Regions from separate parts of the Homo sapiens genome. Here region 1 is linked to region 2. Evidence: promoter capture Hi-C in human tissues and cell types (Jung and others, 2019). All regions are on one chromosome and are shown on one strand. The core of a region is centred on a gene start or on the middle of the fragment in contact, and the rest is flanking DNA. Distances in the headings are between cores, read along the strand shown.

Region 1 (6,937 bases), core at 2,115-4,614, 700 kb before region 2:
TCCTTTTTTTAAAATTTAATTTTTTTTTCTTTTTAAGGATAGGGTCTCACCTTTTCAACCAGACTGGAGTGCAGTTGCACTCTCGTAGCTCACTGCAGCCTCAAACTCCCAGGATCAAGTGGTCCTTCCACCTCAGCCTCCTGAGTAGCTGGGATTGCAGGCGCCTGCCACCACACCCAGCTAATTTTTGTATTTTTAGTAGAGACAGGGTTTCGCCATGTTGTCCAGGCTGGTCTTGAGCTCCTGACCTCAAGTCAGGTGTCTTCTAATTCAATTCAATTCTAACACTGCCTACCTAGAGATAGTGTCAGATCCCACAGGTCGAGGGCTCAGTCCCACAAGTCTGCCCCCCACTTTCTGATGCCAAACACAAGTCCCAGGTTGTTTTTCCCATGCTTCTGACCAACCAGATATAAATAGGGGTTCTCACAACCCCCTCCTCAGGTTTGATTAATTTTCTAGAGTAGCTCACAGAACTCAGGGAAACAAATGTTTACATTTACTGGTTTATTGTAAAGGGTATTGCAAAGGATACAGATGAAGAGATGCATTGGGTGAGGTATGGGGAAAAGGGCAGAGTTTCCATGTCCTCTCTGGGGTGCCACCCTCCAGGAACCTCCATGTGTCCAGCTAATCAGAAGGTCTCTGAACCCTGTCTTTTTGGGTTTTTATGGAGGCTTCATTACATAAGCATGATTGATTAAGCCATTGGACATTGGCGATCAACTTAACCCTCAGCCCCTTACCCCTCCCCAGAAGTTGAAGGGTGGGGCTGAAAGTCCCAATCCTCTAATCATGCCTGGGTCTTTCTGGGACCAGCTCACATCCTGAAGCTACCTAGAGGCTGCCAAGTCACCAGTCAACTTATTAGCAGACTAAAACACACATCACTTTGAAGGATTTTAGGAGTTGTATGTCAGCAAATTGGATGAAGACCAAACACATATTTCACAATATCACATTACTATTATTATCATCTTACAGATGAGAGGACTGAAGTTTTATTCTCCTATACAGCTCAGGATTCCCATTCCTCAAGAGGGACATTAAGATGCAAAACAACAGGTATACTATCAATATATTATACATCTAAACAACTCTATATGATCACTATATATTGAAACAACAGCTATATAAGCTGGGCATGGTGGTGCTAACCTTAGTCCCAGTCCTCAGGAGGTTGAGGCAGGAGAGTTGCTTGAGCCCAGGGGTTTGTGTACAGCCTGGACAGCATAGTGAGACCCCATATCAAAAAACAAACCTATAAATATGGGTAATTAAAAAAAACACTCAAAAGAATACTACATACTGTTTTATATAAAATATATGTACCTTGTGGCTCATGCCTGTAATCCCAGCAGTTTGGGAGGCTGAGGCGGGTGGATCACCTGAGGTCAGGAGCTTGAGACAAGCCTGGCCAACATGGCGAAACCCTGTCTCTACTAAAAATACAAAAATTAGCTGGGTGTGGTGGTGGGCGCCTGTAATCCCAGCTACTCAGGAGGCTGAGGCAGGAGAATTGCTTGAACCCAGGAGGCAGAGGTGCAGTGACCCGAGATTGCGCTACTGCACTCCAGCCTGGGCAACAGAGCAAGACTCCGTCTCAAAAAAAAAAAAAAAAATATATATATATATATGTATATCTTTATATGAATGTTTATGATTTATGTACATATATACACTCTATACATACTTTTTTTTTTAGAAATGGAAGTAAAAATTTCAGCCTCATTGTAGGGGATGGTGGTTAAATCTGTCTTTGGATTTATCTGCAATATTTCAGGGCTTTTTTGTTTTGTTTTTTGTTTTACAAAGGTAGAAACAAATAAAACACTGGTAGCAAATATGACAAAATGTTAATGATTATTTCTAGATGGTGAAAATATGGGTGTGATTTTTTTAAAAAGTCTTTGTGCTTTTCTGTATTTTAAAAATTTCTTGAGGCCGGGTGCAATGGCTCATGCCTGTAATCCCAGCACTTTGGGAGGCCGAGGCAGGTGGATCACCTGAGGTCAGGAGTTTGAGACCAGCCAACATGGTGAAACCCCATCTCTACTAAACATACAAAAATTAGCTGGGTGTGGTGGCACATGCCTGTAATCCCAGCTACTCGGGAGGCTGAGGCAGGAGAATCGCTTGAACCCAGAAGATAGAGGTTGCAGTGAGCTGAGATCGCGTCATTGCACTCCAGCCTGGGCGACAAGAGCGAAACTCCATCTCAAAAAAAAAAATCTCAAAATATAAAAGATTTTCTGAAGAAAAAATGGGTCTGGGTATAGTGGCTCATACCTGGAATCCCAGCATTTTGGGAGGCTGAAGCGGGAGGATCGCTTAAGCCCAGGAGTTCAAGACCAGCCTGGACAACATAGGGAGACCCTGTCTCTTCAAAAATAAAAAAAAAATTATTTTCATGCTAGGCATGGTGGCACACTCCTGTAGTCCCAGCTACTCAGGAGGCTGAGGTGGGAGGATCACTTGAGCCCAGGAGGTGGAGGCTGCAATGAGCAGTGATTACTCCAGCCTGAACAACAGAGCAAAACTGTCTCAAAAAAAAAAAAAAAAAGAGAAGAAGGAGAAGGAGGAGGAGGAGACAGAGATGGAGATGAAGACGAAGAAGAAGAAAAAATGGGAAGGAACTACACCAAAATAGTAATAGTGATCATCCTTTTATTCTTCCTTCTGCTTTTCTATAATTTCCAAAGTTTTCATAATAAGCAAATCTGTAATGGGAGGGAAAACACTAGATCTTTCTGTTTTGTTCGGAAGTTTTGTTTTTAGCAAACTTAATCCTAATACCTGGAGGTTAGTTAATGTCAGTATAGAATCAACACTCAGTAACAAGTATCTGCAATTAAATAGGTGATAGAAAAGCCCACATTTTTTTTTATTCTTTTTTTTTTTTTTTTTTTGAGTCAGAGTCTCGCTCTGTCGCCCAGGCTGGAGTGCAGTGGCATGATCTCGACTCACTGCAATCTCCACCTCCCAGGTTTAAGCAGTTATCTCACCTCAGCCTCCCGAGTAGCTAGGATTACAGGCACGTGCCACCATGCCTGGCTAATTTTTGTATTTTTAGTAGAGATGGGGTTTCGCCATGTTGGCCAGGCTGGTCTCGAACTCCTGGCCTCAAGTGATCCGCCCACCTCGGCCTCCCAAAGTGCTGGGGTTACAGGCAAGAGCCACAGCACCCAGCCAAGCCCACATTTTTCTAACAATATTTCCCCACCCAGATAAGTGGATTAAAGCCCTCTCCTAAGATTTAAATCATGTGAACATGAGTAATGGACAAAATATCAAGGTCTATTGTAAACTTAATTTCTAAAGAGTAGAATATATATTTGCCTGCATATGTGTATATTCTAAAATACTGAATTGTGGTTCCTGCCCCAAGACAACTGACACATTCAAACTAGTAGAAATGAGGTATTTGCTGGAATTAGATAGTTTCTCTTACAATTATTATTAATTGCATTGATATTAACAACTGGGTAACAGCAGGTGTGAATGGGTAAAATGACTCTAAGTCACAACCACATGGGGGAAGTTAGAAAAACTGTGCAGCATGGAAACCTTTTTACTTTTTTGCTATCTGGGCAAGCAAAGCTTGGGTTTCCAAGTTTAGTGACAGATTTATTTTAATGTAATTAAATAATTGGAGTTTTCCACTGCCAGAAACTTTTATCCACTTTATTACTTAGAGGATTAAAAGAAAATTTGATCTGATGTTTTATAGAGCTTTCTCTTCCCAGGGACCCAGAGAGGGGACAACTGGGAACATATGACCCTGGATATTATCTGTTTCCATTGCATCTGACTGAGCACAGCATAGACTAGATGATTGCCAAAAGTTTAAAGTCAGTCTCTCACCTCTATTGTTCCAGAAGAATTGGGTTTTATGCTGGAGGAAGAAACCTTAGAAATCACTGAATCCTTGTTTTACAAATTATGGCACTCTCCTGGCAGAACTAATAAAATTACACTTATGCATATACTGTGATGTAATTTCCCTCTTAAGAGCTAACAAGGAGGAGCCTAATGCTATGGTTTGACTGTGTCCCCCAAATTTCAGGTGTTCAAAATTTAATCCAAATTTGCATGTTGATTGGGGCTTTAGTGAGGTAGTTAAGATTAGATAAGATTATCTTGGTGGGGTCCCCAGAGTGGGACTGGTGGTTTTATAAGAAGAGGAAGAGGCCGGGCACGGTGGCTCACACCGCCTGTAACCCCAGGACTTTGGGAGGCAAAGGCGGGTGGATCATGAGGTCAGGAGATCAAAACCATCCTGGCTAACATGGTGAAACCCCGTCTCTACTAAACATACAAAAAATTAGCTGGGCGTAGTGGCAGGTGCCTGTATTCCCAGCTACTCAAGAGGCTGAGGCAGGAGAATGGCATGAACTCAGTGGGCAGAGCTTGCAGTGAGCCAAGATTGCGCCACTGCACTCCAGCCTGGGTGACAGGGCGAGACTCTGTCTCAAAAAAAAAAAAAGAAGAGGAAGAAAGATCTGAGCACACACACACACTCTTCTCTTCTTGCCATGTGATGCCCTCTACCATGTTATGAAGAAGCAAGAAGGCATCACCAGAGGCTAGAGCCATGCTCTTAAACTTCCCAGCCTCCAGAACTGTAAGCTAAATAGTTTTTTTCTTTATAAATTACCCAGACTGTGATATCCTGTTATAGCAACAGAAAATGGACTAAGACCTCTAAGGAGACAATACAGAGATGTTCATTGCAGCATTGTTTGTAACAACAACAACAAAAAAAACCTGAAACAGCCAAAATATCCATCAGTAGGAGAATGGCTACCAAAACATAAAATAGTCATACCACAAAGCACTATGCAGTAGATAAAAGAAATGAGCTAGATCTAACAGGACAGATGTCGAAAGCAGAATGAGTGAAACAGCCAAGTTACAGAACCTGTGAAACATATATTTGTATAAAAACTCATGCAACAAAACTATTTTACATGGGTATAATATATGTAATATGATCTTGAATGTAAAAATCTTCTAAAAGGTCTAGACCTGTGCTAATACAGTAGCTACTAGCCACATGTGGCTATTTAAATTAAATGAATTAGTCACACTAGCCATATTTTGAGAGTCCATTAGTAACTATGGCTAGTGGCTTCTGTTTTGGACTACACAGATATATAACATTTCCATAATTGTAGGATGTTCTACTGGACAATGCTGATCTAGACAAATACATGCCAAATTCATAAGATCACTTAGCTGGGTAGTGGTAAAACCAAAGCTGGTGTCAGACGACTACTATTGATGTATTCTTGGCATGAGGGCCCATTTGGGTCATGGATGAATGGATGGATGAATGGATGGATGAATGAATGGATGGATGGACTCATTCGTTCATTCATTTACAAAGTATTCATTCATTTGGAATCATTTGCTTACTATATGTAAAATGGTTTCAGCCCTTGGGAAACAAAATGTAATCTGATGCTATCCCAGGCCCAGAGGACAGAATAGGCAGGTGTCAGTCATCATCTACGCACCAAATACCTTTTCCGTCACAGACTCTGTGTGAGGACTGGGTTCAGTGGCAAACAAAAAGATATAATCCCTCTTCTTGTGGAATGCACAATCTGCAGTAGGGTTTCTCAACACTGTGGACATCTTGGATGGCTCATTCTTTCTTCTGGGGGCTGTCTTATACATTCTATCTTTTCTTTCTTTTTCTTTTTTTTTTTTTTTTGGAGACGGAGTTTCTGTCTTGTCGCCCAGGCTGGAGTGCAATGGCACCATTTCGGCTCACTGCCACCTGTGTCTCCCAGGTTTAAGCAGTTCTTCTGCCTCAGTCTCCTGAGTAGCTGGGATTACAGGTTCATGCCACCATGCCTGGCTGATTTCCGTATTTTTAGTAGAGGTGGGGTTTTACCTTGTTGGCCAGGCTGGTCTCAAACTCCTGGCCTCAGGTGATCCACCCACCTCGGCCTCCCAAAGTGCTGGGATTATAGGCATGAGCCACTGTGCCTGGCCTAGTCTTGTACATTTTAAAATGTTTAGCAGAATCCCTGATCTCTATCCACTAAATGCCAAAAACATCCCTCCATCCTGCCTCCCTCCAGTTGTGACAACCAAAGATATCTTTAGACATTGCAAATGTTCCCTGGGGACAAAATTGTCCCTATTGAGAACCACAAGGAAATACGGACATTAATCAAATTATAACAAATTATTTAAATGATGACAAGTGTGCTGACTGCTGTGATAGGGATGTGTGGGATTCTTTGAAAGCTTTAACAAGGGGCCTGACCTAATCTTTAAGGGGTAGATGAGAAAAGCTTCCCTGGGGATGTGACGACATTGCCTCCTCTTTTAGCCAAACATGGACAGAACTTGCCTGCAATGGACACAATTCTGTATAAACAGGTGTATGCCATGATCTTGGAGAAAGGAAGTGAGACATCAGGTTCCTTTAGGAGAGGTAAGGTAGGCTGGCTTTGATGCATAATTATCCATTTCAGATGCTGCTATCTAAAGCACACTCAGCTGGCACAGCCTGGGCAAGCGGCCATGAACTTAAGACTAAACCAGCTAGTAAGAAATGGAGACCAGCTGTAGATCCTGTCTTCCTCACCAGAGATCTGGAGGTCATAAACAATAGAGCAAAATGAGAATCAGGATTTACCACATTCTCTGATTTCTCAAAGGATTTGGATAAACTCTCCCTCTGCCTCGCACCAAGCCTTTTACAACACAATAAATCCTAGTAGAGAGAAATGGAAAAGACATGTGAGATGAGCAAATGTCTTCATTCTCAGTGGTCACGGGATTCAGGAGTCCCCAGTTCAAAGATGTGATCAGATCTTTAACTGTTCCTTAATGAGGCCAAAAGGGACTCCTTGGAGCTAGGGCATCTATTTTAATGTTTTGAGAATTCTGTTTTAAATGACTTTGCATCCTACTGTGA
Region 2 (6,143 bases), core at 684-3,183:
CTAATTCCTCTTCAAATAGGAATGCTTGAATTTCTGTAAATTAAATGAGTACATATATGTGTACTCCACCACATACTCATAGAGATTAGAGAGTCTTCTATAAATGAAGCATAATATACATGTTTCATAACAGATGATTACTTTCAGGATTTTTGCTTATTTAAACGTGTTCTCAGTCATACAATAGAGAGTTGCAGGCCAGGTGTAGTGGCTCAGGCCTGTAATCCCAGCACTTTGGGAGGCCAAGGCAGGCAGATCACTTGAGGTCAGGAGTTCGAGACCAGCCTGGCCAACATGGCAAAACTCCGTCTCTACTAAAAAGACAAAAATTAGCTGGGCATGGTGGTGTGCACCTGTAATCCCAGCTACTCGGGAGGCTGAAGCAGGAGAATCGCTTGAACCTGGGAGGCAGAGGTTGCAGTGAGCCGAGATTGTGCCACTGCACTCCAGCCTGGGCAACAGAGTGAGACCTCATCTCAAAAAAAAAAAAAAAAAAGAGTTGCCGTTAGAAGACAAGTGACCTCTCGATTAGCAACTTAAAATTCTATTTTGCAGTCTGACTCTTAATTGAGACAATGTAGCATATTTACCATACTTTTAGTGGAAATAACCTAAATTCAAATTCTGCCACTTACTAGTCTGACATTGGGCAATTTCCAATGTACCTGAACCTTGGTCCTTCATCCGTAAAAATTGAATACAAGTAGTACCGATCCCAGGGGATCGTAATGAGGATTAAATGATGTGTATGTCAACAGCCTACTATGGGGACTGATACTTAGTAGGCACTCATTTACTAATATTAGTAACTTGTGTTCACTTCCCGCTGGTGTGGTGTAATGTTTGCAGAAGTTTTTGCAGTTTTAAGTATAAAATCTGAGACTGGGAGGTGATCCCCTTTGGCCTTTCATGTGCCCTTGCTAATTCTACAGATCCCTTCCCATCCCTTCCCCCAAATATACACCCCAGTGATAAGCAGAGCTCTATCTTCCACGTCCTTTCCAAAAGCTCCAGATAACATCAGAGCCCCTATACTGAACAATTTGTCTGATTCTGAGAAGGGGGTTCAGTAGATCTCGGGCCTAGGTCCGTGTTCTGCCCCTAATTTGACCACGTGATCTTGGACAGGTTACTTAATTTCTTCAGTGAGCCTTGGGTGTCCTCAGTCGCAAAAGGAGTAGCAGCTTCAACCACTCCCAATATCCCTTCAGATTTTAGACTGGGAAGAAACTGTCCACGCACCACAAAGATTAAAAGCGCCTGGTAACCCCTAAATACTCTCCCCAAACCCATTTCAAACGTCACTGCTTCCGATGTCTGGACTTCTTGGCATTTCGTACAAATCTCAAGGGTCCATGCTGGCCCCTGCGCCCTCACGCGGCTAGGACCTCACATTTCTACGTCGCGGGCGCCCTACCCTCTCTGGAGCTGGGTCCATATCCCCCTCCCAAGAGCGCTGCAGTAAGCACTGAATGAAATAACGGCCCCGCCTGACAGAGCCCAGCACAAGGCAAATGCTCAAGAGATGTTGGCTAATATCAGCAGTCAACGGATCCCGCGCCCTCCTTGAGCCTCAGTTTCCTCAAGAACGTAATGAGGACGGGCATAGACAATGCTCAAAGCCCCCAGCAGCGGGCGGAGGGTCCCGAGGCGGGCCTAAGGGGCGCACGCTGCGGAAGGCAGGGCAGCCCCGGAAGCCGGGCGGCCCTGAGAGTCCCGGGTCCAGCCCGGCGCGGAGATGCGTCCTCTCACCTCCCGGGCTCAGCAGCAGCTTCAATGCCTCCAAAATCCGATCCAGACCGCATGTCTCCTGAGCCCCGCTGCCCACGGCCTGTCGGGCCGCCATGACTGGAGTGTAACACCACGCTCGCGACCCGCTCAGGCGCCTCGGCAGGGCGCCGCCGCCGCCATGTTAAGTGTGGCAGAAGGCTCTGGGCACACTATGGGGCGGGGCCAAATCGATCGGGAACGCCCCCTTCACATTTTTTTTCCGTCCCGGCTTAGTCCGGGGGGTAAGAGGGAACCCAAAAATGGCTAATCTGCCCACGCGCACAATTTCAGAAGCTCAATATGATTAACCGCTATGTAAAGAAGGAAGAGAGAAGTAATGTATCATTAAAGCTATATTTCAATATGAAAATACTCAGGTACTCAACACTGGCAGACATAATGAAGCAGACAGATGCTTCCATCTGCTTACAGTGAAGTATGGATAAGAAAAACAATATTCAGGCTGGGCGCGGTGGCTCACACCTGTAATCGCAGCACTCTGGGAGGCCGAGGCGGGCAGATCACAAGGTCAGGAGTTTGAGACCAACCTGTCCGATATGGTGAAACCCCGTCTCTACTAAACATACAAAAATTAGCCAGGCGTGGTGGCGGGCGCCTGTAGTCCCAGCTACCCGGGAGGCTGAGGCAGGAGAATCGCTCGAAGCTGGGAGGTCGAGGTTGCAGTGAGCCGAGATCACACCACTGCACTCCAGCCTGGGCGACAGAGCGAGACTCCATCTCAAAACAAACAAACAAACAAAACCTAAGTACAGACGTACACACGCATATATATCCATCGTGAATGTAAAGCTACAAATGTTGTTATGGGTAATATGATTTTTTTTTTCAGTGAACTTAGTAAAGTTCCCAGTAAAAGTTCGATCTGTGTTCTGTTTTCATGGTTGATGCATTCCTCGAAAATTCAGGGTCTATCAAAACCATGCCCTCCGCCAAACTGTTTTTATATGTAAAACAGAATGGATTTGAGATTCAGATTATCGGAAACAGGTTTTCACCTACATAAATCCTGGTGGGACGTTGAAAAACCATGTTGTCTGAAAGTCATGCCGCAGACACAGGACAATGTTTTTGAGGGCAGGACCTTTATTTTTATTTTATTTTTTGAGATGGGGTCTCGCTCTGTCGCCTAGGCTGGAGTTCAGTGGCGTGATCTCGGCTCACTGCAACCTCTGCCTCCCAGGCTGAAACAATTATCTGGCCTCAGCCCCCCGAGTAGCTGGGATTACTGGAGTGCCCCAGCATGCCCGGCTAATTTTTGTATTTTTTGTGGAGACAAGGTTTCGCCCTCTTGGCTAGGCTGGTCTTGAGCTCCTCACCTCAAGTGACCTGCCCACCTGGGCCTCCCAAAGTGCTGGGATTACAGGCGTGAGCCACTGCGCCCGGCCCAAAGGACAAACTTCTTAATGGTCCGGTCCTTGGGCGAGAATAAGCTGCGCATAGCTATTACCCTTTTTGGCATGACTCTTGTTTCTTCTTTTCTTTGTCATTTTGGAATGCAGGGCCTGAGAGGGAAAAACGCTAAAAATTTTTTTTTAGAGATGGAGTCTCTATGTTGCCCAGACTTGTCTCAAACTCCTGGCCTCAAGTGATCCTCCTGCCTCAGCCTTCCGAATAAAATCTTGTGTGTGTGTGTGAGACAGAATCTCACTGTCACCCGGGCTGAAGTGCAGTGGTGTGATCTTGGCTCACTCCAACTTCTGCCTCCCCTGCTCAAGTGATCCTCCCGCCTCAGCCTCCCAAGTAGCTGGGACTACAGATGCATGCCACCACACCCGGCTAATTTTTGTAGAGATGGCGTTTCACCATGTCACCCAGGCTGGTCTCAAACTCCTGGGCTCAAGCAATTTGCCCATTTCGACCTTCCAAAATACTGAAATTGCAGGCGTGAGCCACCGGTTCTGGCCTTAAAAATATTTTTGAATGGGAAATAAATCACCTACAAAATTGCCACTGTGCTCTTTTTATTTTGTGTATTCCTTTCCAGGTTTTGTCATTAGACAATGTTTTCTCCATTGTGTATGGGCACAGGTTCATTTGGGAAATAAAAAATTTTAAGAGTATTTTGAGATGTTAAACATTTAGTGAGACGGGGGTAAAGCACTGTGTGGGGAAGGCTTGAGGGGTTTGGTGCAAAAGTACAGGTAGAGGCCCTCACGCCGCCAGCCTAAATGTTTCAGTGTTAGAAATCAAGCGAAGAGACTGGTAACTAAAATATTTTCTATCCTCCTACCTTGAAAATTCTATCAAGTTTGAATTCAAAATTCTCAGACTGTCTCAGAGCTCCACAATGGAGACCTCTGGTCTGACCCATTTTTCTTCTCACCAGCATCTCCATCCTGCACCATGAAGGCTGGGCACTTAGATGTGTGGGCACCCACAGCCCTGCACATTCAGGTTCTGTCCACACCCCACACCCCATCCCTTCCACAGAGCAGCTACCATTTGGCCCCTCTGGGTCTAGAACTGCAGATGGGGGCCGGGCGCGGTGGCTCACACCTGTAATCCCAGCACTTTGGGAGGCAGAGGCGGGTAGATCACAAGGTCAAGAGATTGAGACCATCCTGGCCGACATGGCGAAACCCCATCTCTACTAAAAATACAAAAATTCACTGGGCATAGTGATGTATGCCTATAGTCCCAGCTACTCGGGAGGCTGAGGCAGGAGAACCTCTTGAACCTGGGAGGCGGAGGTTGCAGTGAACCGAGGTCGCGTCACTACACTCCAGCCTGGTGACAAAGGGAGACTTTGTCTCAAAAAAATAAAAAACAAAACAAAACTTCAGACGGGGAGCACAGTGCACCATCCAGAGGGCAGACCCAGGGAAGAGTCCTGCAAAGCCCTAGAAGAAGGCCTGGGATGGTTGGGCAGGGAATTCCAGGGCCTCAGAATCCAGAGTGTGGGCCGGGTGTGGTGGTTTATTCCTGTAATCCCAGCACTTTGGGAGGCTGAGGTGGGAGGATTTCTTTTGCCCAGGAGTTTGACACCAGGCTGGGCAACATAGGGAGACCCTGTCTCTATAAAATAAATACAAAAATTAGCCAGTCAGGAGTTCGAGACCAGCCTGACCAACATGGTGAAACCCCATCTCTACTAAAGATACAAAAATTAGCCAGGCGTGGTGGTGCACACCTGTAATCCTAGCTGCTCAGGAGGCTGAGGCAGGAGAATCGCTTGAACCCAGGAGTGAGCCAAGATCGCGCCACAGCACTCCAGCCTGGGCGACAGAGTGAGACTCTGTCTCAAAAAACAAACAAACAAAGAACATGGAGTGTGGTCTTGGAGGAGGGTGAGGATTTGGAGATTTGGATGGGCAAGTCCCCCAGGCCTGGCAGATTTCTTGCCCAGGGTGGGGGGCATGGTGGAGGTGGCCAGATGGAGCTTCTCAAGCATGGGCCCAGGGCCAGGAGACCACCAGGCCTAAGTCTAAGGGCAGTACTGGTGTGGGATTTACAAAAGATCATTACAGGATATTCAGAGCTGAGAATCCTTTATCCCAAAGTATTACAAGACCTAGACATCTCTTCTGTTTTTATCTCTCAGGCTCTGTGGGCTGAGCCAACACAAATTGTCATGCATAATTTCAAAAGCAATGTCATAAGATCCCATAAAAATTCTTGCAGCAAAGTAATATATCCCATGTGGAACACTGGGTGTATTTTAATATGTGTGATAGGATGTTGGAGGAGTGCCTGAGTCCACGAGGCTGTAGCGTAAATTGGCCCTCGTCTAAAGAAGAAGAAACACGCTCAGGCTTCTCCCAGCCTCAAATTATTCAGATGTGCTTTAAGTACCCTGTTTCTGTAGAATTTTGTATTTAAGCTTATGGAATTTTAGTTTATAGGACTTGAATTCTGGTAGCCCCTTCCTTGGTTTGCTCTTGGCAGCTTTATTAAAACACAGAAGTACGGCTGGGCGTGGTGGCTCACACCTGTTATCCCAGCACTTTGGAAGGCGGAGGTGGGCAGATCACCTGAGGTCAGGAGTTCAAGACCAGCATAACTTACAAGGTTAAATCTTGTCTCTACTAAAAATACAAAAATTAGCCTGGTGTGGTGGGGCACACCTGTAATTCCAGCTACTCAGGAGGCTGAGGCAGGAGAATTGTGTGACCCCAGGAGGCGGAGGTTGCAGTGAACTGAGATCGTGCCACTGCACTCTAAATGCTTTGTACATATCAACTCATTTAGTGCTCAAAACACTATAAAGCAAATACAATTACCCTCTTTTTTTTGAGACAGAGTCTCTCTCTGTCGCCCAGGCTGGAGTGCAGTGATGCGATCTTGGCTCACTGCAACCTCCTCCGCCTCCCGGGTTCAAGCGATTCTCCTGCTTCAGCCTCCCAAGTAGCCGG

Evidence for each region. Contacts are between HindIII fragments. The study calls those that stand out against the background at their distance.
Region 1: a fragment that was not itself captured here is called in contact with the fragment with the promoter of TANGO6 in region 2 in 1 of the 25 tissues and cell types used here (stomach).

The regions. Positions count from the first base shown.
Region 1 is chr16:69,537,159-69,544,095 of GRCh38, reverse strand. No RefSeq gene overlaps it. Among named protein-coding and RNA genes, the nearest start is that of MIR1538, 25 kb to the left of the region's middle. The HindIII fragment of the contact is 5,842 bases long and covers 444-6,285 here.
Region 2 is chr16:68,839,321-68,845,463 of GRCh38, reverse strand. TANGO6 (transport and golgi organization 6 homolog) reads right to left here and starts at 1,933. Exons shown (of 18, transcript NM_024562.2): 1 at 1,753-1,933. The coding sequence starts at 1,846. RefSeq lists an enhancer at 1,693-1,962. The HindIII fragment of the contact is 20,381 bases long and covers 1-6,143 here.